4 separate regions of the Homo sapiens genome follow, and all the other regions are linked to region 2. The links are contacts of gene promoters, found by promoter capture Hi-C in blood cells and fetal thymus (Javierre and others, 2016). All regions are on one chromosome and are shown on one strand. The core of a region is centred on a gene start or on the middle of the fragment in contact, and the rest is flanking DNA. Distances in the headings are between cores, read along the strand shown. Region 1 has its middle 35 kb from the start of CASP8. Region 2 holds the start of TMEM237 (transmembrane protein 237). Region 3 overlaps TRAK2 (trafficking kinesin protein 2). Region 4 holds the start of CASP8 (caspase 8).

The links. Contacts are between HindIII fragments. The CHiCAGO score rates a contact against its expected background, and 5 or more counts as called.
Region 1: a contact is called between a fragment that was not itself captured here and the fragment with the promoter of TMEM237 in region 2, in 1 of 17 cell types (fetal thymus). The highest score is 5.5, in fetal thymus.
Region 3: a fragment that was not itself captured here is called in contact with the fragment with the promoter of TMEM237 in region 2 in 2 of 17 cell types (endothelial precursors and erythroblasts); the score reaches 7.0 in endothelial precursors.
Region 4: a fragment that was not itself captured here is called in contact with the fragment with the promoter of TMEM237 in region 2 in 2 of 17 cell types (megakaryocytes and endothelial precursors); the score reaches 8.3 in megakaryocytes.

Annotation. Positions count from the first base shown.
Region 1 is chr2:201,223,875-201,226,574 of GRCh38, reverse strand. It overlaps a transcript of CASP10 not described here. Among named protein-coding and RNA genes, the nearest start is that of CASP8, 35 kb to the left of the region's middle. The HindIII fragment of the contact is 4,030 bases long and covers 1-2,700 here.
Region 2 is chr2:201,642,253-201,644,952 of GRCh38, reverse strand. It overlaps TMEM237 (transmembrane protein 237), which reads left to right and starts at 1,450. Exons shown (of 13, transcript NM_001044385.3): 1 at 1,450-1,594. The coding sequence starts at 1,553. It overlaps MPP4 (MAGUK p55 scaffold protein 4), which reads left to right. Exons shown (of 22, transcript NM_033066.3): 22 at 1-79. RefSeq lists silencers at 1,332-1,591, 2,162-2,351. The HindIII fragment of the contact is 8,699 bases long and covers 1-2,700 here.
Region 3 is chr2:201,379,573-201,382,272 of GRCh38, reverse strand. It overlaps TRAK2 (trafficking kinesin protein 2), which reads left to right. Exons shown (of 16, transcript NM_015049.3): 16 at 1,055-2,700. The coding sequence ends at 1,730. Among named protein-coding and RNA genes, the nearest start is that of FLACC1, 24 kb to the right of the region's middle. The HindIII fragment of the contact is 3,042 bases long and covers 1-2,700 here.
Region 4 is chr2:201,257,853-201,260,552 of GRCh38, reverse strand. It overlaps CASP8 (caspase 8), which reads right to left and starts at 17. Exons shown (of 9, transcript NM_001372051.1): 1 at 1-17. RefSeq lists enhancers at 1,713-2,132, 2,153-2,212, 2,209-2,353, 2,313-2,442 and a cis regulatory region at 2,281. The HindIII fragment of the contact is 954 bases long and covers 974-1,927 here.

The sequences.
Region 1 (2,700 bases), core at 52-2,551, 420 kb after region 2:
TTGGGAGGCTGAGGCAGGAAGATTGCTTGAGGCCAGGAGTTCAAGACCTTCCTGCACAACATAACAAGACCCTGTCTCTACAAAACAATGTTTTTAAGTTTATTTTGGGACATAGATCCAAAAATGGAATTGCTAGATTTTACTGTGTGCAAATTTCCAACATTTATAAATATTGCAAATTGCTCTCTAAAATGATTGTGTCAATTTACATTTCCTAGATCGATGTAATAGAGTTCCCTTTGCTCTGTATCTTCACCCACACTTGGTACTGACAGAGTTTTAAATGTTGATAATATGATGGACATAAAATGCTATCTCACTGTGGCTGTATTTTTCAAATTCTCTGATGACCAAAGAGAATGGTTATGTTTTCATATATTTATTGCTCATTGGTATTTCCTTTTAATTACTGGTTCATATTTTTTGCTCATCTTTGAACTAGTTTATATTTTTGCCCATCTAGGTTGGATTGTTTAATATTTTATGGATTTATAGAAGATTATATATATAGTATATGTACATATATCTCCTTTATCAGTTATACAACGTGGCAGATATCATTTCCCAGTTTGTGGCTCATCCCTCAGGTTTTGTTTTTGTTTTTGTTTTGAGACAGAGTCTCACTCTATCACCCAGGCTGGAGTGCAGTGGCATGATCTTGGCTCACTGCAACCTCCACCTGCCAGAGTCAAGCAATTCTCATGCCCCAGCCTCCCATGTAGCTAGGATCACAGGTGTGCGCCACCATGCCCAGCTAATTTTTTTTAGTACAGACAGGTTTCACCAAGTTGGCCAGGCTGGTCTTGAACTCCTGACCTCAGGTGATCCGCCTGCCTCGGCCTCCCAAAGTTCTGGGATTACAGGCGCGAGCCACCACACCCCGGCCTCATCCTTCAATTTTTAAATGTTGTTTTTGATGTTTTAAAATAGTCAAGAGGCAAGTGTTTCTTCTTAAATTCACAAATGACAGCTCCATAGTGGGTTATCAAGAGAAAAGGTGGGGCTTCTCAGGAAATATCTCTAACCTTTTAGGTTGAGATCATAGAGAATTCGATGATTAGTAAAACAGACCGAGAGTGCAAAAGGGTGATATAACCAGGGAAATGTCACAGCATTGCCGAAACCCCTGAAAGCCCATTGGAGGTTTGTGGTCATTGGTTTGAAACGAGACCTGTCTGCAACATGGAAGGTTTTTACCCCAGCCACATCCTGGAATTCCAGTACAAATTTGGAGGACAAGGATTTATAGGATTAACCAGAGTTGGGATTCTACCACCTCAGTGGAACTGACAGAAAGGCAAGGGTGTTGGTGGGTACAGGAGACTTTAACAAAGACACATGGACTCTAAGCTGAATGAAGAGGGAGTGAGGGGCGGTGCTGACATCGGGAAGACAATAGATAGGGTCAGTCAACCTAACTGGAAGCCCTGGTGGCACTGAAGATCCTTGAAGGGAAGGTCCTAGAAGAAGCAAGATGGAATGATGGGAGGTGGTTGTCAGAGAGGGACATGCTTGGAATTGAAACGTGAGTGAAAGTACAGATGGTAGTAATGACAAAGTTTACTGGATGCATGATTGGGGGGACATGGAGGATACACTCATTGAAAAAGGGTGGGGAAAAATCTGTGACAAACACAGAGTGAATAATGGGAAAATACATAGCAAAATAGAATTATAAATAAATATACTTTTTTCTTGGTGTGTTTTTGTATTTCCCAAATATTCCATAATGAACATACATTACTATGTAATCAGAAAAAAGTTATCAAATAAAATTCCCTTATTTATTAGTAAGTCCATTTCTACTATTTACCAGTACTCAGCTCAAAATCTCACAAAGTTATTTCCATTCTAGAATTTCACCAGTATTTCCCAGGCATTTTACAGAATCACTTAAAATGAGACCTACTGAGACATGTAAGTTTCACAGCATATGTTCTTTCTTCCAAGAAATACCTGTCTGAAATATGTATGCAGAAGTGGGGAGGACTGGGTATACAGTGGACAGAACTGGGGGCAAAACTCTTCTTGAACACCTTTAATTTTCTTATCTTCAAACCATACAAATATCTTTATAAAAATATTACCTACTCAAAATTACTTAAAAAGTAAAAATTAGTACAATTTAAAATTTTTAATTTAAAAATCTTTTCATAAAAATTCAGATTTGCAAAAGTTATGTTAGGAAATAAACAGTTGTTTGCATTGCCAAATAAGTAAATCTTTAAACACAGAATTTCCTCTAGTGCTTTTTAAAAGGGATTTCATTTTTTTTCTAATGTATTAAGAGTTCCATTTTTTTTTGGCCAGGCACGGTGGCTCACGCTTGTAATCCCAGCACTTTGGAAGGCCAAGGCGGGCGGATCACGAGGTCAGGAGATTGAGACCATCCTGGCTAACATGGTGAAACCCTGTCTCTACTAAAAATATAAAAAATTAGCTGGGCGTGGTAGCGGGCGCCCATAGTCCCAGCTACTCGGGAGGCTGAGGCAGGAGAATGGCATGAACCTGGGAGGCAGAGCTTGCAGTGAGCCAAGATCGAGCCACTGCACTCCAGCCTGGGCAACATAGCAAGACTCCGTCTCAAAAAAAAAAAAAAAGAAAAGAGTTCCATTTTTAAAAAACACCTGCCTGTAGCCCCAGCTGCCACTCAGGAGGTTCAGGTGGGAGGATCAGTTGAGCACAGGAGGCAGAGGCTGC
Region 2 (2,700 bases), core at 201-2,700:
CCTTTCGCAGATTTCACATGATCTTTTTAAGATTTAAATAAAGAGCTTTCCTAAATAAAATAAGCAATAGTTAACTTTAGAAACTGTACTCTATGAAACGTGTTTTATGAAAACATCTTTTACAAAAAGTGCTTACTTGACTAACTCAGCAAGAAAGGTTTAATGTACACATTTCACATCTAAAATCAAAACCTACAAGAAACTGCACTGCCTTCACTATTTACAAATCGGCCTACAAGGAAAAAATTATTCTCATGAGAGGTGTGACAAACACTAATTTTCCTTAACAGCCAATATCTACATGCAGGCCTAAATTAGAAAAAGGCAATGGATTAATCCCAGAGACCTATATATAGAAAATCACAAGAGTGAAACCGTGTCTCAGAGTTAAAGAAACCAGGGACTAACAGAAATTCTTGAGCATGCAGGACGGCAGATAAAAAACAACTTGCTAAATAAAACGCCTAAACTTCTTCCATTGTGAGATTAAAAAACAAAACAAAACAAAACAAAGCAAACTGGCTGAAAGTGGTTAGTACTAACACGGATGGCTACCTGGAGTCTGTACAAAATGAGCTTGCTGGCGTCACAGCTTGAATCTTTCCCCATGTTTCACACTGACTCCCTCCAAAATTTGCACATGCGACCCATGAAGGGACATGAAGAGGTAACTGCGAACGCCAGAGGATTTTCCAGATGGCTTCTTTCCTTCCACCAATCACCTACTAATCCCAGAATCCACCCCCTAAACGTTTTCTAATAAAAATACTGTCTTAAAGCCAACACAGGGAGACAGATTAGAGCTATACTCCTGTCTCCTTGTTAGCTGACTCACAATGAAAACTTTTCTCAAAAAATCAGCGCCATAATATTGGCTTCTGTGCGTATAGGGCAACAAGCCCCGTTTGTTTGGTAACAAGATTAGGATGCCATTACAAAGTGCTGTTTCTCTTTCTTTCCCCAGATTTGAGATTTCCAGGCGCTTTCCCTGTCCCTGTATCTGTTCATCTTCTGCATCATTCTCTTCTCCATATCCACACCATTCTTCCATCTTTCCCATTTCTTTCTTAACTGTAAAACAGAATGCATGATTCAAAATATTTGTAGTTCTCTGTTACTTAAAGTGAAAGTTATCTTTAAAAAAAAACAAACCCAACCAAACCAAACGATGCAAATCAGGTAGTTTGTAGTGATATTTATGTGAGGTTGGATTTGATTTTAAGGTTGAGAAAAAGTTTTTCCAAATTTGATTTACACAGTTGTGGGATGAAGGGTAAGCAATCGGAGAAAATGTGAGAATTGCCTATATTAATACACATCCACACACCCAGGCCTGCACAGACTCGTTGGTCCTGGAGAGTAAACGCATTCCTCCCAAACCCAGCAGCGCCTGGCAGGACAGAGGCGGGCGGGGACCTGGCTCAGGGGGCGGCTGCCTCGCCAGGCGCCACGAAGCCCCGGCGTCCCACAGGTCCCGGAGGCCGCTGCGTCGCGGGGAGCTGGGCTCGGGCCGCCGGCGGTTGCGCCGGGGCAGCCCCGCGGGGAGAGCACCATGAGGACTGACTCGGGGGCTCGGCTGGAGGAGGGCCACCTGGTGAGCGGCGAGGGGCGCGTCGGCCTCGAGAGGTGGCGGGTAAACAGCTACACTTGGCAGTGGGGGTGGGTGTGTGTGGGGGGGCGCCAACGAGCTGGGAATCACTAAGGGAGGGCCTTGCTCGTGGGGTGCGCGCATCCGCCCCTCCAGTGTTCACAGGAATGGGACGGAGACGCAGGCGAGGCCGGGACCGAACTCCCGGAGTGGGAGAGAGAGGCCTGGCATGAAGTTTGCGGGGACCTGAGCCCGCGTTGCCACGACGACGCCTCACTCATCTGAGGCCCGGGGCCCGGCGGGTGCCGGGGCTTCCAGCCAGGCCTCTCCTAGACTCCTCCGAGGAGAGGTCTGTAGCTGCCCAGAAGAGATCTGTTCGCCTGCGGAGTCCTTTAATTAAGGTCTTCCGTCACGCCCCGCTTCCCGCAAACAAATCACCGCCACCACTTAGGAAACCACGGGAAAGCTGTGATTGCAGCGCCACGGTCGCCAGATTTCTGCTCCTGGGCACATTACCCCCAACTCCGAGGCCCCCTTTTTGGCAGGGCTAGTCTGGACTGGCCAATCCAGGTCCCTGCACGCCTCTCACCGCAACATCCCCGCAGGGCGCTGCGCGCGGGGTACTAGCCAGGCGGCGCGGCCCGATGACGCATTGCGCCTGCGCGCGCGACCGAGCCGGGAGGGGTGGGGCGCCAGGTGCTTGGGGGCCGGCGGCCGCCGAGGCCGGCTAAACGCAGAATGGGGAAGAATCCTGTGGTAAGCGAGCCTTAGCTACTTTTAATTGTTAGGATTTTTGTCTTCAGTTGAGCCGTCCTACTTTTGAGGATTAGAGGTTGGGTCTCTGGGTGGGTGGAACGTCATTTTTGCGGGACTTTTGAAATCAGTTACGTGAACAGAGCCCTGGGATCGATCGCGCGCGCTTCGTAGCATCTTTAGAACAATAGCGCGTTCCTGTGACTGTCATTCTTCTCCAATTGTAATTTTGACTACTGGATGGTATTACGGCAGCTTGCCTCGTCCTAATCTTGTAGTACTTGCATTAATCTACTGTTCGAACGAATGGATTGCTAAATGGGACAAACTACAAGAGTGTCTAAAATTTAACCCTTTTG
Region 3 (2,700 bases), core at 166-2,665, 260 kb after region 2:
TTTGCAGGGAAATTGGCTAAAGAAGTACCATCTCTATTTCATCACTGTTTCCTCAAGTACATGATTCGTTAGTTTTTCTTTTCGACTAAGCATAGAATAAGAATTTTCTCATTTGATTATTATAAAAGTAGGCAAGGCAAGTATGTATTGTGTAAAGTAAACCGAGGCATGGAAGGTTGAGGTGACTGGTCCTAGGGCAGACAACTAATAACCCAGCTGGGGCTATATACCCGGAGTTAGCCAAACTGCAAGATTTACAGGGCCAGTCCTCTGCACAAGCTCACCTTCACTTCTGTATATTCAGTAGTATTACTGAATACTGAAGTAATACTGAAGAAGTATTACTGAATAGTTGTCGAAGCTATTAGTTATTTTTAATTTCCTAAAAACACATGTTTCAGGTCAAGGTTGAGAAAAAATTCATCCTATGGATATTTTTATACCATTATTGTTTGAAATTAACATTTCTTGAGAAAATGAAATTTAACAATTAGAAGTTTTTATTTCTCAATGAAATAAAATTAAAAGATTAAAAAGAAAGAAACTTCTCCCAGAAGAGTTTTCATGTTTAATTGTGAAAGATTGTATTTTTTTAAAAGTTGGTAAACTGTTTACCCATGGATTATTGTCTCAATGTATCTCACTTTATGGAATGGATATATGAATAAACATTCTAAATTACTTTCCTTAATCTTCAAATTTCTTTGCCTTCTATCATAAAATTTAACTGTATTTCTACAGATGTACATTTTAGAGTTAAAATTTAAGAGTAAAGTTATCTAAGAGTACAGCAATACCTTTCATATCCCACTGAAAAGAAATATCTTTTAATAAGTTAATTACTAAGTTATGAATTACAAATAATTAATCATTGAAGTATCATGTCAAAATTTTCATTCCCCAGATCTGTTCCACAGCATACAGTTACGGATGTGTTTGTTGCCTGTTACTTTATATTTACCAAGGATAACTACTATAATTTCTTTAAATGCCAGCTTGGAGCTTGCTTTTTATTCTTAAACACTGTCTCCCACTTTTTTTTTTTTTTTTTAAGCTCTGGGTTCCCTTCATTATCCTGTGGAAGTAGCGGTAGCAGTTCATCCAACACGGCTGTGAATTCTCCTGCCTTGTCCTATAGACTCAGCATTGGTGAGTCCATCACCAACCGACGAGATTCCACTACAACCTTCAGTAGCACCATGAGCTTGGCCAAACTTCTACAAGAGCGAGGCATCTCTGCCAAAGTGTACCACAGCCCAATTTCAGAGAACCCCCTCCAGCCTCTCCCTAAATCCCTGGCTATCCCTTCCACACCACCAAATTCACCATCTCACTCACCTTGCCCTTCTCCTTTACCCTTTGAGCCTCGAGTGCATCTCTCTGAAAATTTTTTGGCCTCTCGACCAGCTGAGACATTCCTCCAGGAGATGTATGGCTTGAGACCCTCCCGGAACCCTCCTGATGTTGGCCAGTTGAAGATGAACTTAGTGGACAGGCTGAAGAGACTGGGGATAGCCAGAGTGGTCAAGAACCCTGGTGCCCAAGAGAATGGAAGATGCCAGGAGGCAGAAATTGGTCCTCAAAAACCAGATTCTGCTGTTTATTTAAATTCAGGTAGCAGTTTATTAGGTGGACTAAGGAGGAATCAGAGTCTTCCAGTCATAATGGGTAGCTTTGCTGCCCCAGTTTGCACATCCTCACCCAAAATGGGTGTCCTGAAGGAGGACTGAGGTTCAGCAGTTAACTGACCTTTTATACAAGTTAGCACATGAAGGATAGATATGCACTGAAACATGTGGTCTGGTCTGACTTGAGAGAAAAGGAATGTTGCACAAGGGTTGTGAATGTGAAAGGGGGAATGGAGGAATGGAAATAAAATTGGGATGAGCCCTAATGGAGGAAGTCGGGCAAATTGAAAGTATAAATGAATGGGCCATGAGTGTTCAGAGGGAGAAAAGAAAGGTTTAATATACTCCTTCAGTTGAGTTTTCTTGTCTTGAACATAAAAAGTGAATACAAATAAATTCAGTAATACTAAAACATACAGAGATACTGAACTTGCTGGCACATTTACTTCTGGTAAGCATAAAGCAGAGAGAACCCAGGTTAGAAGGATGGGAAGAGAAAAGGAGCAGTTTTATTGCTTATAGAAAGCCGTTCTGAGGGGTTGGTGGGGTAAGCTCAGTCTATTACTGAGACAATAGTGAGATGGCTTATATGTTTCCCCTGTTAATATCTGGTTAAATTATGTATCCATCAAATGGTATGCTCGCAGCATTAGCAAAATTAGGAGTTTCATCTTTTTCATTGAATCACAGGTGGAGACTCCTATTTTCCTTTCTGTTTTCAGGCCTTTGAGCCCCTGGGAGCCCAAATACCACTCAATTATTTTGTATTTATGATTAATAAAAGTTCATTTTTTAAATTTGTATTTTTATACAACCTCCAAAAAAAAAAACAACTGGGTAGAGGGTGGGAGGGATTTACTTTTAAGAGGCAAAATGTGAGTAAATTGAAACCAAGAAAACTTGTTTTTAGAATATTTCGTCTGAATAAGTACAGTAGCCAAGGAATACAAACATAATTGCATGTTTTTAAAAATTCCTTGGAGGCTGGAAGGGGTTAAGCCAGAAGTGCAATCAATAGGAATTAGGGAATGTTGTATATTTATATATGTAAACTTTTTTTGTAAGAAAAGTT
Region 4 (2,700 bases), core at 201-2,700, 380 kb after region 2:
GACAAGAGCAAACGTCTAATGAAGGACGGAAGGGCACAGCCAGCCAGCTCTACTTCCTGTTTCGAAACTCCTGAGTCACAAACACTAGAGGGGAAAGAGCGCTTACCACTTGCCCCTGAGTGAGCAGAGTGCCTTCTAAAGCTTCTAAAGCTGCAGGAAAAAGGCCTGGTGGTCCAGGAGACCGCACGCAGGGCACCTGGCCACCTGAGCACTGGCCCCTGGCTGTGACTTTGGATGGGCCATTTTACCTTTGGGGCCTCATTTCCACATTCCAAAACAAGGACGTTGGACTGGATTGTAACTAAGAACACTTTCATTTCATATTTAGGATTTAAAGATTTTTCTGGGTTCATCATTAAGACTTTAATTTTTTCATTCAATGAATCTTGATGGAGCACCTCAGAGAGGTCTTGAGATTGGACACTGCAGAGCCCTCTCATCTTGGTTCTCAGGGTGGCTGTGAACTTTCAGAGCTAAAGCCCCTGGTTTAGCCAAGGAGCATCTCTGTGGCCCCAAGGTCACCAGATTCCACCCTCAGCAGCCTAAAATACTCTAAAATTAAAAAAAAAAAAAAACTCTAAAAAGAAAAAACTCTAAAATGAAAAACCTCTAAAAAGAAAAAACTCTGAAATAAAAAAATTCTAAAATGAAAAAAATCTAAAAAGAAAAAACTCTAAAATGCAAAAACTCTTTGGTAAGATGGTAAGTCCATCTTACCAAAGGTGATCCTTGTATATGAGTGTAGCTGAGGAAACCATGAAGTTAGCTGAAAGCTGGGTTTACCATCTTATCAAAGAAGCAAATCCTGGGGCCCTCACCATGTTGGGCTCTAGGGATATACCAGTAAACAAAATATTGCCTTCATACTGAGAGTTAGATGAAATGTTTTCTGATATTAAAAGTAGGAAAAGAAAATCAAACACCTCTCTTCTTTGAAACTGCCTTTTGTCTTTCCCCAAATAGAATATAAGCTTTCAGAGGGTAGGGACTCATAGCTGAGAAGACTGAACGAAGTATCTGAAAAGGACTCTTCACCAGAGAGGGCTAGGTCAAGATGGCCTCATAATATCAATGCCTGGATGGCCACCGTGGCTCATGCATGTAATCCTAGCACTTTGAGAGGCCAAGGTGGGAGGATCCCTTGAGCATAGGAGTTTGAGACCAGCCTGGGCAACAAAATGAGACACCATCTCTATGAAGAAAAATTTTTTAATTAGCCAGGTGTGGTAGCACGCGCCTGTGGTCCCAGCTAATCTGAAGGCTGAGATGGGAAAATTGCTTGATCCCAGGATGTTGAGGCTGCAGTGAGCCGTGATTGCACCACTGCACTGCAGCCTGGGTGACAGAGCAAGACTTTGTCTCAAAAAATAAATAAATAAAAAAGAAATAGAAACAGAATGAGCAAAATAAAATACCAATAGTATTAATATGCAATAATAATTGCTAACTCGTGTAGTAAGTGATGTATGCGTATTATCTCCTTCAAGCCTCACAGTCACCTCTGGAGGCATTATTAATCATTTAATGATGAGATAACAGAGGCACAGAGGAATTACTTGCCTGAGATCGCATAGTTAAAAAACAGTGTACACATACAAAAGAAAAATACATTTTGCAAAGATACAGATAAATTCACGAATCCACATCAAAACATTAGAGAACTGTCTTTGGGGAACAAGAGAGAGGGCAGGAGGGCAAGGGTGGGGGTGGAGAGATAAAAGGAAACCCTTCAGACACGGAAGAGGGGGAAGGGGCTGTGCACCTCAGGGCATCGTGATTCGACAGAATGACAGAATAAAGTACTTAACCGTCGGCCCCAGGGCCAAATGAAAAAGAAAAAAAAGTGGATTGATAAAGTCTTCTGGACTCTCCAAACGGGTCCACAGGAGGGAGACCGTGTATCTGCATTCGAGGCGGCAGGGAAGCTTGGAGGACAAAAAGGTAGCAGAGGAACTGGAGACTGCTCAGAGTGAAAAAGTAGCAAAGTCAGAGGCAACGGCTCAGAGAGAAACCACACAGGAGACCTGGGCCAGGCAGCACCCAGAGGTGTCCTCAGAAGGGCAGATCCAAGTTGCTTCCCCACCCCCACAGCCCTGTTTCTAGAGCAAGTCAAGAAACAAAAATATTGTGGTTTCCTGTTGAAGAGGCCACCTTGGCAACAGGCACTCACCCGCTCCACCCTTTCCTGGCACCATCGCAGTCTCCGAGTCCCCTAACCTGCCTAACTCCACGTGCTCAGCAGGGAAGGGGGTGGGAAAGGCTCCCAGGAAGAAGTTTCTTTTACTTTCAATAACCACCCTGGCTCTTCTGCCTCCCTCCATGGCCTCACTTCCTGTTGAGTTGACTAGCAAATTCAGCAGGGCTTGAAAAAAAACACAAAAGATAAAAGGAGGAGAACCTGTGAAAACACTTCCCTCCAGCAGAAAGGCAGAATCTGGTCTCCGAGAGAAAGAGAAAACTTCACCACAGAAGGAACTGCAGGGTAAACTTTACTCCTAAAGCAGAACAGAGATGACTCACTCGAACAAGAAATGTTTCCTGTTTAAAGGAACAGATGCCCAATTTCCAACCATTCAGAAGAGGGATGTGGCAGACAATTCATGGACGTGCAAACTAAAGCCCGAGCGCTGGACATGCTTTATTGGAAAGCATTTATACTGACTCCATTTAGTAATAATAACCCCTGTCGGTGGCAAGTAA